Regions from separate parts of the Homo sapiens genome. Here region 1 is linked to region 2. The links are contacts of gene promoters, found by promoter capture Hi-C in human tissues and cell types (Jung and others, 2019). All regions are on one chromosome and are shown on one strand. The core of a region is centred on a gene start or on the middle of the fragment in contact, and the rest is flanking DNA. Distances in the headings are between cores, read along the strand shown.

The links. Contacts are between HindIII fragments. The study calls those that stand out against the background at their distance.
Region 1: a fragment that was not itself captured here is called in contact with the fragment with the promoter of EN2 in region 2 in 1 of the 25 tissues and cell types used here (spleen).

The regions. Positions count from the first base shown.
Region 1 is chr7:155,403,624-155,411,166 of GRCh38, forward strand. No RefSeq gene overlaps it. Among named protein-coding and RNA genes, the nearest start is that of LINC03010, 25 kb to the left of the region's middle. RefSeq lists an enhancer at 4,891-5,613. The HindIII fragment of the contact is 8,046 bases long and covers 1-6,333 here.
Region 2 is chr7:155,454,294-155,462,052 of GRCh38, forward strand. It overlaps EN2 (engrailed homeobox 2), which reads left to right and starts at 3,836. Exons shown (of 2, transcript NM_001427.4): 1 at 3,836-4,769. The coding sequence starts at 4,085. EN2-DT (EN2 divergent transcript) reads right to left here and starts at 2,825. Exons shown (of 3, transcript NR_186580.1): 1 at 2,697-2,825. RefSeq lists enhancers at 1-48, 49-574, 2,498-3,489. The HindIII fragment of the contact is 19,554 bases long and covers 1-7,759 here.

The DNA.
Region 1 (7,543 bases), core at 1,061-3,560, 52 kb before region 2:
GTGAGCCCAGCAGGGAGGGCTGGCAGCAGACTCTCACTGGCAGCCACTTGGGCCTCTGGCTCCAGGAAGAGATGGGTTTTTGAGTCTTCAGATTAAAGGGCTTTACTCCCAGGGGCTGCGGAGGCTGGACAGAGGGGCTAAGTGGTGGGGACCCAGTAGATCTGTGACAAAGTGTCAGCCTGTGCTGCTGGCATGGGAACAAGGATGAGACCCAGGATTCCTGGCCCCACTGCAGCCTCCCATACCTCTCACCTGGTTTCCCAGGCTCCCCTTGGCCCCAAACCCACCTCACCCACCTCACCCTCATCACACCTGTCAGCTCCAGCCCCTTTCCTGAGCTACCCCATGCCAGGAGCTGGGGCTGAGACTCCCACTGAACCTTAGCTATGGGACCAGGCCAGGTGGCCAGATTCACAGCCCCCCAGTTCTAACAGCCTCTGCGAGTCAGGTGGATTTGATGGGGGGTGGGGGTTGAGCCTGGGAGGAAGCTCAGTCCATGCAGGCAGCCCCCAGCCACTGCCCACCCACCCCTCAGTGGCCCCCTCTCTACTGCGGGGATCCCTGGGGGAGCCCCTTCCTAGGGGCAGGTGCCCTCCTGAGCCTCGGTCACCAGCACCTCCCAGAAGGAAACAAAGGGGTGGGGAGCAGCCTAGGGCTCTGGCCTCGCTGCTGGAGGTGGCTGGAGGGACAGCCACCTCCAGGCACCAGGCAGGGGTCTGGCAGCTAGGGAGTGACAGCGCAGACCTGCTTATTTGCATGCCATATACTGCAGGAGACCTGCCACCGCCAACCCAGGAACAGAGAGGGAGAGACCCGCTCTGGTTTGAAGATGTCAGCACACAGCGGATCAAAAGTTTAGCCTGGAGGCTGCTGTCAGCCACTCAGACGCATAACTTTATACGGTTCCAGAGACGTGTGGTGCAGGAACTATGATGGGGAGACGACAGCAGGAGGAGGGCCATGGGGTGGGGAAGTTGGAGGTGGGCAGCCCCTGCTGGGGCTGGGGATTGGGCTGGTGCAGCCCCAGGCTGGAGGTGGGTGACTCCACCCTTTTATTTTCTGGGGCCTGCAGGTTCGGGTCCCTCAGCCCGGGCAGCAGCGTGGCCTCCACACCACGGGCCCCCCAGCGGGGCCCATCTTCCTGAGAGGTGGGGCGCCTGAGGGACTGCACCAGCATCCCCTTCAAAGCCTTCCCTGTCCCTTTTTTGCCCTCTCCCCAGAACAGCTCCCCCAGGGCGGCTGCTCTCTTCTCCACTGGGCAGGGGAGGAAGCAGGCCCAGCACTCGCCCAGGGAGGTGCCAGGACCAGAGCCCATCCCGGGAGGTGCTGCCACCTGGTCCCGTCCCCACTCACGCTGTGGAGAGGGCTCCTGTGGGTCAGAAGTCAGTTGGCACAGGCCCCCGCCTTCATCCCCAAGTGGTACCCATCATCGTTACATGGCACCTGTGGCCCCACCACCGGGTCAAGGGCTGAGCTCAGGGCCAGCATTCCCGTCTCCCCGTCTGGTGCCTGCCCAGGCCTGCTTGTGGTCTTGTGAGGAGGTGGCTCTGCAGGCTGCGGCCCTGGAAGGGGGATTCAAGCCCACCCGACTTGCTGAGGCAGCATAGGTGAGCGTCCTGCGCCTGGGGTCACCTGCCCCGCTGCCCCGGCCCCAGCACCACCGCCCGGAGGAATTTGTGGGTGTCAGTTCCCTGCTTCTCTCCTATCAGGAAACAGCTGCTTGAAATATTTTTTAAAGGAAAATATGAAGAATCAATTAGAAAGAGAATATCAAACAAGATTTTCTTGTTTAAAAAAATGACAAAATCCCTCCATATTTAAACTGAGTTCGAGAGAACCGTCCTGGTGTCTTTCTGCCTTTTCTGTGCTGCTGGCTTGGAAGCCTGACAGCAATTCTCCCAGTTTCTGAAATCTTTTTTTCACAGTCCACGGGGTGGTGTTTGCGAGACACACAGCAGAGGGCAGAGCTAGAAGGGGAGACGCAGCCGGTCCCTGGGAGAGCCACAGGCTGCCCCCGAACCCTCCACCTGTGTGCTGAGGCACGGTCCCCTCGGCTCGCCCAGTACGACTCGACTGGTTACAGGACCCCAGACTCAGTCCTCGCCCCAGTCACCCCTGCTCAGAGGTGCCAGTGGCTCTGGGCCTCTGCCTTCCTCCAGAGCCCCTTGGCTCAAAAAACCCTCAGCATCTCCCGCCCACAGCCTGTGGGGGCCTGTGCTACCCGGGCAGGGTGGGAACTGCCAGCAGCTCCTGGCCTCCCAGCAGCTCCTTCCTCCTGACACATTCCCCGTCCGGTTGGACCGTCTCCAGGAGTCCACACTCCAGCTCAGCCGGGCCATGCGGATCCCCTCACCGGAGCGTTCTTTAAGGACCAGGGCTGCCGAGCAGGTGATGGGCAGAAGGCCCCACCTCCCCACTGTGAGCCGTGTGTCTTGTGTGACCTTTCTGAGCCTTCGTGTCCTCATCTAGGTGGTGGCATTCGTGAAGCCCACAGGACGCCCCAGCAGGAAGCGGCTGTGGTTCTTGTCACCCCCACCATGGCTGCTGCCTGGCCCCACTTCAACCATGCCCGCCCCTCCGCTCGGCTGCACACAGTTTTGCTCCTCATTACAGGCTTCTCCACAGGTTTTCCTCCTGAACCATGTGGATTCTTCTTGTCTTCCCAAATCCACCAACCTCTCTGAGGGCAGGGATCAGGCATTCTTCTCAGTGTTTACTTGTGAAAGCATCTAGCAGAACTGGGGGCCTACAGACCACCTCAGAAATGGTTTGAAAGCAGAAAGTGCTACCATATGCAGTTGAAATTCCCAGGCAATTATGCATGTAAAAATTCCTGGTTGTATACATGGAACATCAAAGATCAGAAGGAAAGAATCAAATGCCTGACTGTGCTATGATAGCGCCATTTCCTTTAACTCGTTTCACAAACGCAGATAGAGCGCTTACCCCGAACCAGGCATGTTGCTGCGTGATTGATAAATATTAACTAAATTAATCTTTGAAACCACCCCATGAGGTGGGTATTATTGTTGTCACCCTTTCAAAAATGTGGAAACCGGGGTGGGGAGATGTTAAGACGCTCAGTCAAGGTCACACAGCTCACCCGCGGTAGAGCTGGGGTTCAAATGCAAGTGGTCTCGGTCCAGTGTTTACGGCTTTAAGGTGTGTTGGCTCCAGGGATGAGTCTTCATTTCTTCTGGGGGCTGCGGTTATGAAGAGACCGGCCCCAGACCCAGAGCCAATGCCGCCAGGCACTTTCTGAGAGGAGCAGCGGCGGTGTGAGAGTGTGGAGTGTGAGAGTGTGGGGTGTGAGAGTGTGGGGTGTGAGAGTGTGGGGGTGTGGGAGTGTGGGGTGTGAGAGTGTGGGGTGTGGGAGTGTGGGGTGTGAGAGTGTGGACTGTGAGAGTGTGGGGTGTGAGAGTGTGGGCTGTGGGAGTGTGGGGTGTGGGAGTGTGGGGTGTGGGAGTGTGGGGTGTGGGAGTGTGGGGTGTGGGAGTGTGGGCTGTGGGAGTGTGGGGTGTGGGGTGTGGAGTGTGGGGTGTGGAGTGCGGGGTGTGGAGTGTGGGGTGTGGGAGTGTGCGGTGTGGGAGTGTGGGGTGTGAGAGTGTGGGGTGTGGGAGTGTGGGCTGTGGGAGTGTGGGGTGTGGGGTGTGGAGTGTGGGGTGTGGAGTGCGGGGTGTGGAGTGCGGGGTGTGAGAGTGTGGGGTGTGAGAGTGTGGGGTGTGAGAGTGTGGGGTGTGGGAGTTTGAGGTGTGCGTGTGTCGGGTGTGGGAGTATGGGGTGTGGGATGTGAGAGTGTGGGGTGTGAGAGTGTGGGGTGTGGGAGTTTGAGGTGTGCGTGTGTCGGGTGTGGGAGTATGGGGTGTGGGATGTGAGAGTGTGGGGTGTGAGAGTGTGGGGTGTGGGAGTGTGGGATGTGAGAATGTGAGGTGTGGGAGTGTGGGGTGTGAGTGTGGGGTGTGTGAATGTGGTGTGTGAGAGTGTGGGGTGTGGGAGTGTGCAGTGTGTGAGTGTGGAGTGTGGGGTATGGGGTGTGGGAGTGTGGGGTGTGAGAGTGTGGGAGTGTGGGGTGTGGGGTGTGGTGTGTGGGAGTGTGGAGTGTGTGTGGAGTGTGGGGTACGGGGTGCGGGAGTGTGGGGTTTGGGAGTGCAGGATGTGGGGTGTGAGAGTGTGGAATGTGGGGTGTGGGAGTGTGGGGTATGAGTGTGTGGGGTGTGGGAGTGTGGGGTGTGTGAATGTGGGGTGTGAGTGTTGTGTTTGTGGGGGGGTGTGGGAATGTGGGGTGTGGGAGTGTGGGGTGTGAGAGTGTCGGGTGTGGGAGTGTGAGAGTGTGGGAGTGTGGGGTGTGAGAGTGTGGGGTGAGTGTGGGGTGTGAGAATGTGGGGTGTCAGATTGGGTGTGGGAGTGTGGGGTGTGAGAGTGTGGGGTTTGAGAGTGTGGGATGTGCGAGTGTGGTGAGTGAGAATGTGGGGTGTGGGAGTGTGGAGTGTGTGAGTGTGGAGTGTGGAGTATGGGGTGTGGGAGTGTGGGGTGTTGGAGTGTGGGGTGTGAGAATGTGGGAGTGTGGGGTGTGGGAGTGTGAGAGTGTGAGTGTGGGTGTGGGAGTAGGAGTGTGAGAGTGGGGCGTGGGAGTGTGGGGTGTGGGAGTGTGGAGTGTGGGGTGTGGGAGTGTGGGGTTTGGGAGTGTGGGGTGTGGGAGTGTGGGTTGTTGGAGTGTCAGGTGTGGGAGTGTGGGGTGTGGGAGTGTAGGGTGTAGGAGTGTGGAGTGTAGGAGTGTGAGAGTGGGGCGTGGGAGTGTGGGGTGTGGGGTGTGGGAGTGTGTGGTTTGGTAGTGTGGGGTGTGGGAGTGTGGGGTGTGGGAGTTTGAGGTGTGGGAGTGTGGTGTGTGGGAGTGTGGTGTGTGGGAGTGTGGTGTGTGGGAGTGTGGGGTGTGGGAGTGTGGGGTGTGGGAGTGTGGGGTGTGGGAGTGTTGGTTATGGGAGTGTGGGGTGGGGAGTGTGGGGTGTGGGGTGTGGGAGTGTGGTGTGTGGGAGTGTGGGGTGTGGGTGTGTGTGGTGTGGGAGTGTTGGTTATGGGAGTGTGGGGTGTGGGAGTGTGGGGTGTGGGAGTGTCCGGTGTGGGAGTTTGAGGTGTGGGTGTGTCGGGTGTGGGAGTGTCGGGTGTGGGTATGTGTGGTGTGGGAGTGTGGGTTATGGGAGTGTGCGGTGTGGGAGTGTGGCAGGCCACCCTGAGCTGGAGAGAGCAGCGACGGCTCCACCTTCCCTCCAGGGCTCTCTGCTTCTTCCCGCCCCAGCCACCGTCTCCTTGCCTGGCCCGGCGCCCCTCGGGACCTGACAGTTGTCAACCCCTTAGTGTAGATGTTCTTGACCTGCTGTACCTCCTGGGAATAAAGGAGAAATCGCCTAAAGGAATGAGTGTGTAATAGTGAAGTTCCAGACACAGTGGCACCTACGGCGGGGAATTCCTTGGGGTGGGGCAGGAACCCCCTACTGCCTTCACGCTAACCCATAGTGCCGCTCACGGCTGTCAAAGCTTGTCTGTGGCGCAGCTGTGGAGTCCTGGCCGCAGTGGGGAAGGGAACTGACTGCCGAGGCCGGAGGGCAGCCGGCCTGCCGAGGGGAACAGCTGGATCTAGGTCCAGGTCATGGGTAGGTGGGCGCGCAGGCAGACTTTCGTGATGTTGTGCACTTGACGTGTTGTGCTGGACTTCCACAGCAGACAGGAAGGGTGAACAGAGCAGCCCTTCAGAGAGAAGCACTGGGCAGTCACAGGGATTTGAGGGAGGGTGGAGGACACCCTGCAAGCCCTGCGTGGCCACCAACAGGCAGCGCCCTGCAGCAAGGGGGCCACCGTGTCCCAGCCTCTGCCGCCGCTTCTGTGCCATGAGACACTGGTGGGGGCACGTCTCCTGGGGGATGCAGAGCGCAGCACGCGAGGCGGGCTGTGGGCTCACGGGGCTGCCCCCTCCTAGCCTGGCCCCCAGTATCCGCAGAGTCCCTCCTCCCGAGGCTGTGCTCACCTGGCTCTCACCTGGTTGGTGTTTGCTCAGCACCTCAGCCAGGGGCCAGGAGCCGCACAGACAGACTCCCAGGGTGCAGGGGTTTCATTTGAAAAGATCAAGAACGAAACCCAAGCGGACTCGGTTGCTCAGAGCCATCAGGCCATAGCTTTGAGTGGCAGTCCGGGTGGTTCAGTGACTTTGAAATGGTTTCAGGATGGTGTGTGTGTGCTTGTGTGTCTGCACGTGTGTCTGAGTGTGCTTGCGTGTCTGTGCTTGTGTGTGAGTGTACTTGTGTGTGCTTGTGTGAGTGTATCTCTGTGTGTGAGTGTACCTGTGCTTGTGAGTGTGTCGGTGCTTGTGTGTGTGCTTGTGCGTGTCTGTGTGTGAATGTGTTTGTGAGGGTGTGTGCGCACGCATGTGAGAGCGCAGGTGTCTGTGTGTATAGAAGAGTGTGTTGTGTGAATGCATGCATGTGCTTACCCTTTGTATCCCCCACCTGCTTCCCTGCCTTGCCCACGCTCATGCGGGGAGGGGGCGCGGGGAGGGGGCGCAGGACGGGCCTGGTCCAGGCGCACAGGTATCCTTGGAGAGGGGCCACGCTCCAATGCCCAGGCTCCACTTCACGCACCCTTTGGGACTCCCTGAGGACCCTGCACCTGGGCCAGCCAGCAGCCTGGTGACGCGGGGATCATGCTCCCATGCTAAGGAGAGAGCCAAGGGTCAGGAGAGAGCCAAGGGTCAGCAGGAATGCACAGATGGCCGCGTCTGAAGCCACGGAGTCAAGTCTCCCCTTCCTGCCCTGCGTCACCTGGCTGATGACTTACCTGCACCGCACCATGCAGAGGAAATTGCTCAGATAGCATCTCTCCTGGAAGCAGGGCTGCAGAGATCTGAGGGGTAACCCATCCCCTCTGCTCCCCTGTCCCAGAAGCAGGCTAGTCCTTGTAAGTTGCATTGCCTTAGGGGAGATGACATTCCTCGCCAGATGCCCTTCTTCTTGTAATTACCATGAATAGGAATGCAGCCCCCGCTTCTCCAGACCTGGCCAACTGGGGGATAGCTCCTGGCTGGAAGCCCTGTTGCATATTGTATCAGTTTCCTAGTTTCCTGTGGCTGCTGTAACAAATTACAAGCTTAGTGGCTTGGAACAGCACGCATGCATTACCTTACAGTCCCGGAGGCCAGAGGGCCGGCCCAGGTCTCACTGGGCTAAGGTCAAGGTGTTGGCCAGGCTGGGTCCTTCTGGAGGCTCTGGGAGGGGAACAGTTTCCTGCCTTTTCCAGCTTCTCGGGTTGCCCACATTCCTTAGCACATGGTCCCTTCCTCCATCTTCACAGGCAGCAAAGTTGCCTCTGTCTGGCCATCTTTCCTAGTCACACCTGCCCCTGGCCTTAGCTAGGAAAGACCCAGGACACTCTCCTGTCTCCAGGGCCTCAGTCTCATCTGCAAAGTCCCCCGGGCCACACAAGGCAACAGACCCACAGGTTCTAGGGATTTGATCATGGACATCATGGGGAAGCCATTGTTCTGCCAACATCTAAT
Region 2 (7,759 bases), core at 2,586-5,085:
GCTGAGGTGGAGATCTCGCTCTCAGGGATTGTTGGGCGTCTCTGCCCCGCGAGTAACGAGACCGCCGCGAGCGAACGGCTTTCATTGAGTCCATTTTTCCAAGTGTCACCACGTCAAGCTAGAGAAGCGAGGCGAGTGGAGGGGACGCAGAGGGGCCGGAAAAGTCACCCTTCTCTGGCCTCGTTTTCAGATAAAAACGGGAGCCTGGCTCGGCATCCGGGCGCCCGGTGTCTCCGGGGCGCTTCACTGAGGTTTTGTTTGCAAAACTAGCGTCCGTGTCCTGAAGCGCACGGCGTCTGGAAGCTGCTTTCCTGCTCGCCCTCTCCGAGGCCCCTCTTTGTGCAGCGAGCCTGAGAAATATGGAGGACCGTCCTCCGCAAGCGGGTGGTCGCGGGCGCTCTCCGATTCCTGGGTGAAGCTAGAGGGAAAACGGGGTTCCCGGGTCAGTGCCCCACTTTCCATCCCGGGAGAAACTAATGTCCGGAGAGGGCTCGTCTGATCCGCACAGAAAGGCCGACCTTGAGGGCGGCGGTCGTTCGGGGGAGAAAGCGGAGGCTCTGGGCTCGCGGGAGCGCGGCAGCCGGGGCTGGCATCGCAGAGGAGAGACACGCCACTGCCCCGCATCCCCAGAAAGCGCGAGGCGCCGTCCCAGCTGGGGCAGGCGGCCGAGGCCGGTCCTCATGCGCGCTTCTCGAAGCTTCCTGAAACACCTTGCGGAGTTCCGTGTGTATAGAACTCAGCACCGCCCAGCCCCTGGGCAGCTCAACTTTCTGCAGCCCCATCCCAGCTTCCCCGGCCCTTTGAACGGTGACCCCTCTTACCGCTTTCCCAGAGTTGTTTCGTGTTTGGGTCCACTCTGGGGGGCCCGGTACCCTCTAGTTATCTCTCTCTTCATTTATTTCTCTTTCTCCTATTCCTCCCTCCACCTCTCACCTTCCTCCTTTCCAGGAGAGCGACCCACGAATTCCTCTTCCTCCAGCCAACCCCAGGGCCCAGCCCGCAGACCCTGCGAGGGCAGGTCTCTGCCCACCGGCCCGCCAGGCGCCCTGGAGGTGACGCTCTGCTTCCCAGAGTCTCTGTTGCAGCCACGAATTGGGGTCTGGGTCGCAGGAAAGCACAGGGCTGAAGCCCAGCGTCTTGGGGCCATTTATACTGAGGCAGTCAGAGGCAAAGAGTCCCAAGAATTCAGAAAATACTTCTCAGGAAGCCGCCTAATTGGCTTTCATGGGACAGGTGGAGCCATTAACCTGGGATGGTTTTGCAGGAACCAAAGAGCTCAGGGCCCCTCCTCCCCCCAATATCATGTTCAGGAGACCCAGAGTCGTTGGACCCTCCCTTTCCTGACTGGTGATCATCAGAGTTTCCAGAGTTGCAGAAAATTCTCCCCCCAAAAAACCAAGTAAGCGTCAATAAGACTTCCCACAAACTCTCACCAGCCCTATTTTCCCGGGGGGCAGGTAGACTGTGGGGTTTGATTTTTTGAGACTCGGGGAGGACCCCTGGCAGATGTGTGCCTAGCCAGAACATTTGGTAAGGACTCCTCCAATGAAGAAAAAGTGGAGGAATCCAGCCCCAGCGAGAAGAGGCTTCCCCACCCTGCCCTAGACACACCGGACAGAGGGCACACTCTGACCAGAGCCACGTCCAGTGGCCAGGAGGCCAGCCCAGCACCTCCTCCCCCACCATTCCCGTCCTGGGTGGGGGGGTAATTTTCCTGGGAGCAGCTGTGGGAACTGTCGTTTCTCATCCCAGCCCAGCCAGCACTCTGAAGCCTGCAGGGGAAGGACAGCACGTGGGATGGACACTGGGGAAGGAGCTTCGCAAGGCCAGGGTGCAACCTTCAGGCCCCAGGTGGCCTGGCAGGCCACGCTGCCTCGGAGATGCTTGCCAGACTCCCCAAGTTCACTCAGGGCCTGGCAGCAACCTGCTGGCTGCCTCTGCGGGGGTCTGGGTTGCTGAGCACGGTGCAGCTGCCCAGGGCCAATCAGCCCTAGGGTGTCCGTGCCAGGCTGCGGCCTCCCCGCCTCCCCCGCACTGAGGGTACTCATGGCGTGCAAATGCTCCCGCACCCCCAGAGCTGCCCTATCGGATGTTTCCAGGAATTCACACATTTCCATAAAAATGCATTTTAAATGATGGACAGGCGAGCCTGGGGTAACAACGGGTGTTTGGTGGGTAGACAAGAGCAAATGGGAAGGAGCCCGAGGGAGGAGGGGGAAGAGAAGAGGAAACAGAACTTCCAGTTGGACATTCTGACAACAGCTGGAAGGAAAGTCTAGAAAAGATGAAGAGAGAGGAGGGGAGAAACCAACTGGGGCTCCCACCCTTGCCGTTGGATTCCTAATTCTCGTTTCAAATGGGCCCTGCTCTCCGGCAAAATTAGTTTAAAGGATTTTAAAACAAAGAAAACGAGATGACCGGTCTGGGAGCTCCTCAATCAGAGTAGAGAAGTTAGAGGGGGGCGGGCGACTTGGTTTTGAAGTCTTAGCTGAACAGTCACCCCTCCTCTCCTTGGCAAAAAGGATTCCTTTAGAACCTCCGAGGCTCCTGGATTTCTCCCTTCGCAAATGGAGCCGCATACTGCATTCCCCCGCTCTTTCGGATCGCTAAGCATGTTTCATGAGGGTCGCTGTCCCCGGGTGGAATGCGGCCGTATGCACGCGCCTCCCTGCACACGCACACACACGCACACTTACAATAAGTGTCTGCAGGAGGAGTGTCCTGCGCGCCAGCTCTGCGTTTAAGACAGGAAGCTGCCGGGTTACCGAGTCAAATGGGAGTGACACTATTCCTCTCCATCAGCAAGGAAAGCGGACCACAAAAGTCCCTTTGTATCTCGGCAGCTCATTTAATATTATTTATGCATTTTGTGCAAGGAATTGTGGGATTTCGCCCCACGGTAAACAATATGGAAATCTTAAAAATAGCGATCTTCCTGTGCGTGTCCACCTACGCGCCCCGGGGTGACCTGGCGGGGCTGTCGCCGGGTGACTCACACCCCTGAACCGCGAAGCGACAGGGAAAGCGCGGGCGAGCGCAGGAGACGCGGTCGGGGGTCTCTCCGGGTTCCTGGGCTCCCGCACCCGGAGCGGGGGACGCGGCCGCTTTAAGGGGAGGAGGGGCGGCGGGCTGCTCCTGTCACCCAGCGGCGGCCGGAGCGTCACGTGGGCGCGCGGCGCCGCGGCCATTGGCCCGAGGCACGTGTCCAGGAGACCGGCCTGCGACGTCACTCGAGGGGGCTCTGTTAAAAATAAGAACAAAAATCCAGAGTGAAAGTGTCTCAGGTTGCGCCGAGTGGCCTGGAAATTTCCGAGCCCGCGCGGAGGCCGAGGCGGCGAGGGCGGCGGACGGCCGGGGAGCGCGGGCGGCCCAGCCCGGCCCGGCCGGGCCCTGGCCTCGCGTCTCTCACCCATGCGACTCGGGCCGCGGAGCTCTGCGGGGCTCGGCGGGGGCGCGGCCGCACGCCGGTGGGGCGCCCCGGCCCGCAGCGGGGCGGCGGCCGCGAGGAGGGGGCCTCCATGTGCGTGCGGGCGGTGGCGGGCGCGCTGACCGCGGGCGCCCGGCACCCTCGAGGGCCGGCTAGGGCGTGCGGGCGGGGACGGCCGGGCGGCGGCGGCGGCCGGAGCCGGCCCGGGCGGGCGTGAGCGCCGGGGAACGCGCTGCCTGCATGCGCGCAGCTCTCGCCCCGGGCGGCCCAGGCGGCGGCGCCGGAGCCCGAGGCGGCCGGACGCGGAGAGGAGCGGGGAGCCCGGGAGGCGGCCCGCGTCCCCGCCGGACCACTGCGACTGTCTAGACCCCGGCTGCGCGGCGAAGTCGAGGACTTGGCTCTGTTGAATCTCTCATCGTCTGGGCGAGCGGGGCGGCTCGTGGTGTTTCTAACCCAGTTCGTGGATTCAAAGGTGGCTCCGCGCCGAGCGCGGCCGGCGACTTGTAGGACCTCAGCCCTGGCCGCGGCCGCCGCGCACGCCCTCGGAAGACTCGGCGGGGTGGGGGCGCGGGGGTCTCCGTGTGCGCCGCGGGAGGGCCGAAGGCTGATTTGGAAGGGCGTCCCCGGAGAACCAGTGTGGGATTTACTGTGAACAGCATGGAGGAGAATGACCCCAAGCCTGGCGAAGCAGCGGCGGCGGTGGAGGGACAGCGGCAGCCGGAATCCAGCCCCGGCGGCGGCTCGGGCGGCGGCGGCGGTAGCAGCCCGGGCGAAGCGGACACCGGGCGCCGGCGGGCTCTGATGCTGCCCGCGGTCCTGCAGGCGCCCGGCAACCACCAGCACCCGCACCGCATCACCAACTTCTTCATCGACAACATCCTGCGGCCCGAGTTCGGCCGGCGAAAGGACGCGGGGACCTGCTGTGCGGGCGCGGGAGGAGGAAGGGGCGGCGGAGCCGGCGGCGAAGGCGGCGCGAGCGGTGCGGAGGGAGGCGGCGGCGCGGGCGGCTCGGAGCAGCTCTTGGGCTCGGGCTCCCGAGAGCCCCGGCAGAACCCGCCATGTGCGCCCGGCGCGGGCGGGCCGCTCCCAGCCGCCGGCAGCGACTCTCCGGGTGACGGGGAAGGCGGCTCCAAGACGCTCTCGCTGCACGGTGGCGCCAAGAAAGGCGGCGACCCCGGCGGCCCCCTGGACGGGTCGCTCAAGGCCCGCGGCTTGGGCGGCGGCGACCTGTCGGTGAGCTCGGACTCGGACAGCTCGCAAGCCGGCGCCAACCTGGGCGCGCAGCCCATGCTCTGGCCGGCGTGGGTCTACTGTACGCGCTACTCGGACCGGCCTTCTTCAGGTGAGCCCGCGGGGACCACGCGTCCCGGCTCGCCGCGGGGAGGCCCGCGGAGCTGGGGGGCGGTGCTGGCGCGGGAACTTACCGGGAGGAAAACATCTCGAACCTCCCCCGCGCACACGCACAAAGACTCACGCGACATTGTGTGAAGCTGACGCCGGCCCGGGCAGCGGCCAGGAGTCCAGCGGCAGGACTGATTCGCTAGGGGGTACAGACTTCTTAGGACCGCAGAAGGGACCTTCTTTCTTTCTCTGTCTCTCTCTCTCCTTCCTCTCTCCCTGTCTCCCCTCTCTGTCTTCCACCCCGCCTTGGCGCATCTCTTCCCAGCCCCTAGCCCATGTCTCCCCCACTGTAGTTTTTTTTGGTGGGAACGTGGTGGCTGGAAGATGGGCCCGGAAGTGCACACTCTCATCCCCTTCCCTACGATCTTCCAACTCAGGCCAGGCCGGGGACGCATGCCCCAGCCCACCCCAGACTTGTCCTACCATCCGGTTATCCCGGCTGTGCTCGGGGAAGAAAAGGCGAGGCCCTTTGCCGCTCTGCCTTCTGCCCCTCGGGCCTGCGCTGACCGGTGGGACTCAGGAGGATGCACACAGGGAAGGAGGAAAATAAAGGCGCCCTTTCCCCTTGGCTCCACTTTGTTTGCCAGCGCCAGCCCGCAGTGGTGGGGCTCAGCCCCCTTCCTGCACACAGCGAGGACAAGGGAGGCAGCCGTCCCTCCCGGCACCTGCCATCCCCAAATAGAAAGGACCTTCTCTCAGGGTTTCCTGGGGGCTGCTGATGGGAAAGAGGCAGCATTCGCAGGGGCCCTGCAGAGATGCTGGATATATTTTTTCATAGATCTGCGATTTTAAAAAACTAAGTCCATGTCCTTGTAGAAATCATCAACTGCATTCCATGCGGGTCTGCGGCTGGGAACCGCCATTAGAAGTGGACTGTTTGACCCCGAGCTGGCAGCGGATCCCCGCTGCCCCCAAACCCTCAACTATTTTGCGGGGGTCATTTGCCCAGATCACAGCAGGAGTGAGCCAACCCTTGGGCCGCCATCCCGCAGAACTATGCGTGCATATTTCTGATGAAATTCAGATTTCTCAGCTAGATCTGAAATTTGCTCCATTGTTCTCGTCTTCCTCCTTTGTTAATATTTAATTAACATACAGGCTCACAATGCCGGGCGAGGAGACTCGGCCGGGCTTTGTGCGGCGCGGGAGTTCGCTGAGCCAGCCCCCAACGGCCCGGGAGCTGGGCAGCACCGCCCGGCCCGGCCTGGCCCGGCCCAGCTCAGCCCAGCCCAAGTCGCCTATCTTCATGGGCTTTAAAATATCCCTGCAAGATAATGTTTCTGTTCTTTGGTTTCTCCGAAAGAAAGGGGAGAGAGAGTTTTCTTGGGGAGGTTTGATTCTGTTTCTGAGACTCCTAAGTATTTGTCTTTTGAAAGAAAATCAAGAAAAAAACCTAAAAATTATTATTTTAGGGAAATTTATTGCCATAAAATGGTGTCCTTTTGCGGGCTGCTTCATGAGTGCATTAACAAGAGCCCCAGGACCAGAAGAGTTTGGGGGTAGAGTTCTGGGGAAGGGAGTGGTTGGAAACCCAGACAGAGATGGGCTCTGGGAGCAGGAGGCTGGGGCCTCTCCTGGAGCCTTGTGCCCCATCCCCCACCACCGTTCCGGAGGGCCAACCCCATCTCCAAATCTGCACCTACCCCTACCAAAGCCAGGCCCACTGGCCTGGAGCCCTGGGCGTGAGCAAGACAGGCACTGAGTGTGTACGTGTGCATGGGGTGGGTGCCCAAGTATAGGGTGTGTGCTCTCATGGGTGGTGAGCCTGCCTATGGGTTGCTTTAAAAGCTGCCCTTGGTGCTCCTGAGGTGGTGCCCACAGATCCTCTTTCTCCAGGCCTGTCTCCTGGAGAGAGCACAAGACTCACTTGGCCATGAGGGAGTGCTTGGCATTCACCCTGGGCCTCCAGTTCGTCCCCCACCTCTTGCTGGGCACAGCCCCAGCACCCTAGTTGACTCTCCTGACCTGGGCAGGGTGCAGTCCCAGGGCCTCCAAGGAGATCCACATTCCTCTTCTCCTCAGTGTGCCCGGCAGCTCTCCGGCCCTGAAGGGTGGGGGGCCCCCAGCCTTCTCCAGCCACAGGGACCTGTGATGAAGCTGGGGCCAGATGCTCCCTAAAGCCGATTCATACACCGCACAAATTGAAACCCAGAGGCGAGGTCACCACTCCCTGCCAGTGGCCTTGCCCCCTTCTTCCCCCACAGGGAACGCCAGGGGGTTGAGCCTCTTATCACCAAAAAGAAACTGATGACACTTCCCTCCTTCTGCTCTCCTCCCTCTGCCCTTTCCCCATGGATAGCAGGTCCTAGAAGCCTTACAGCGACCCTGTCCAAAACCTGGGGCAGGTCCACAGGGAGAAGGCCAGGTCAGGTTCATAAGTCTGAATCCCAGTTGGGAGGCACAGTGGGGAGGGTCAGAAGTGGACCTGGACAAGGTCAGCTGGGCTACCCTGCTGCCCACAGTGAAGCAGTCCCATGTCTGGGGAAAGGGTGGTGCAGTCAACACCCTTGTAGAGCCAGGTCCCCTCTCCTGGACAGGAAACCTGGGAGATTTCCAGTGGGTGAAGGACTCACCCACTGTGAGTAGCTCAGTGCCCCTCCCCACCAAGGAGGGAAGTACATGCACTGACTCTTCCTTAAAGGAATGAACTTGGGTCCACAGAGCCCTTGGCTGGGAGTCATAGAGGAGCTTGGGTGGAGGCAGACACTCTGGGCCCCTCCTGTCCTCAGGGCCCACCTGCCCCTGATTCCCACAGCCCTTGGCACCCTGTGGGGTATCCCCATGAGGGTCCCCATCATAGCCCTCAGGGCGCCTCCTGCTTCTGTGACCGCCCTGCAGCCTTTCCCAGTCTTCTCTCCTCCCCTCTCTCTCAGCACCTACCGCCATCCCTGTTCCTGAACAGAGAGCCTCAGAAAGGACTAGGAAAAACCA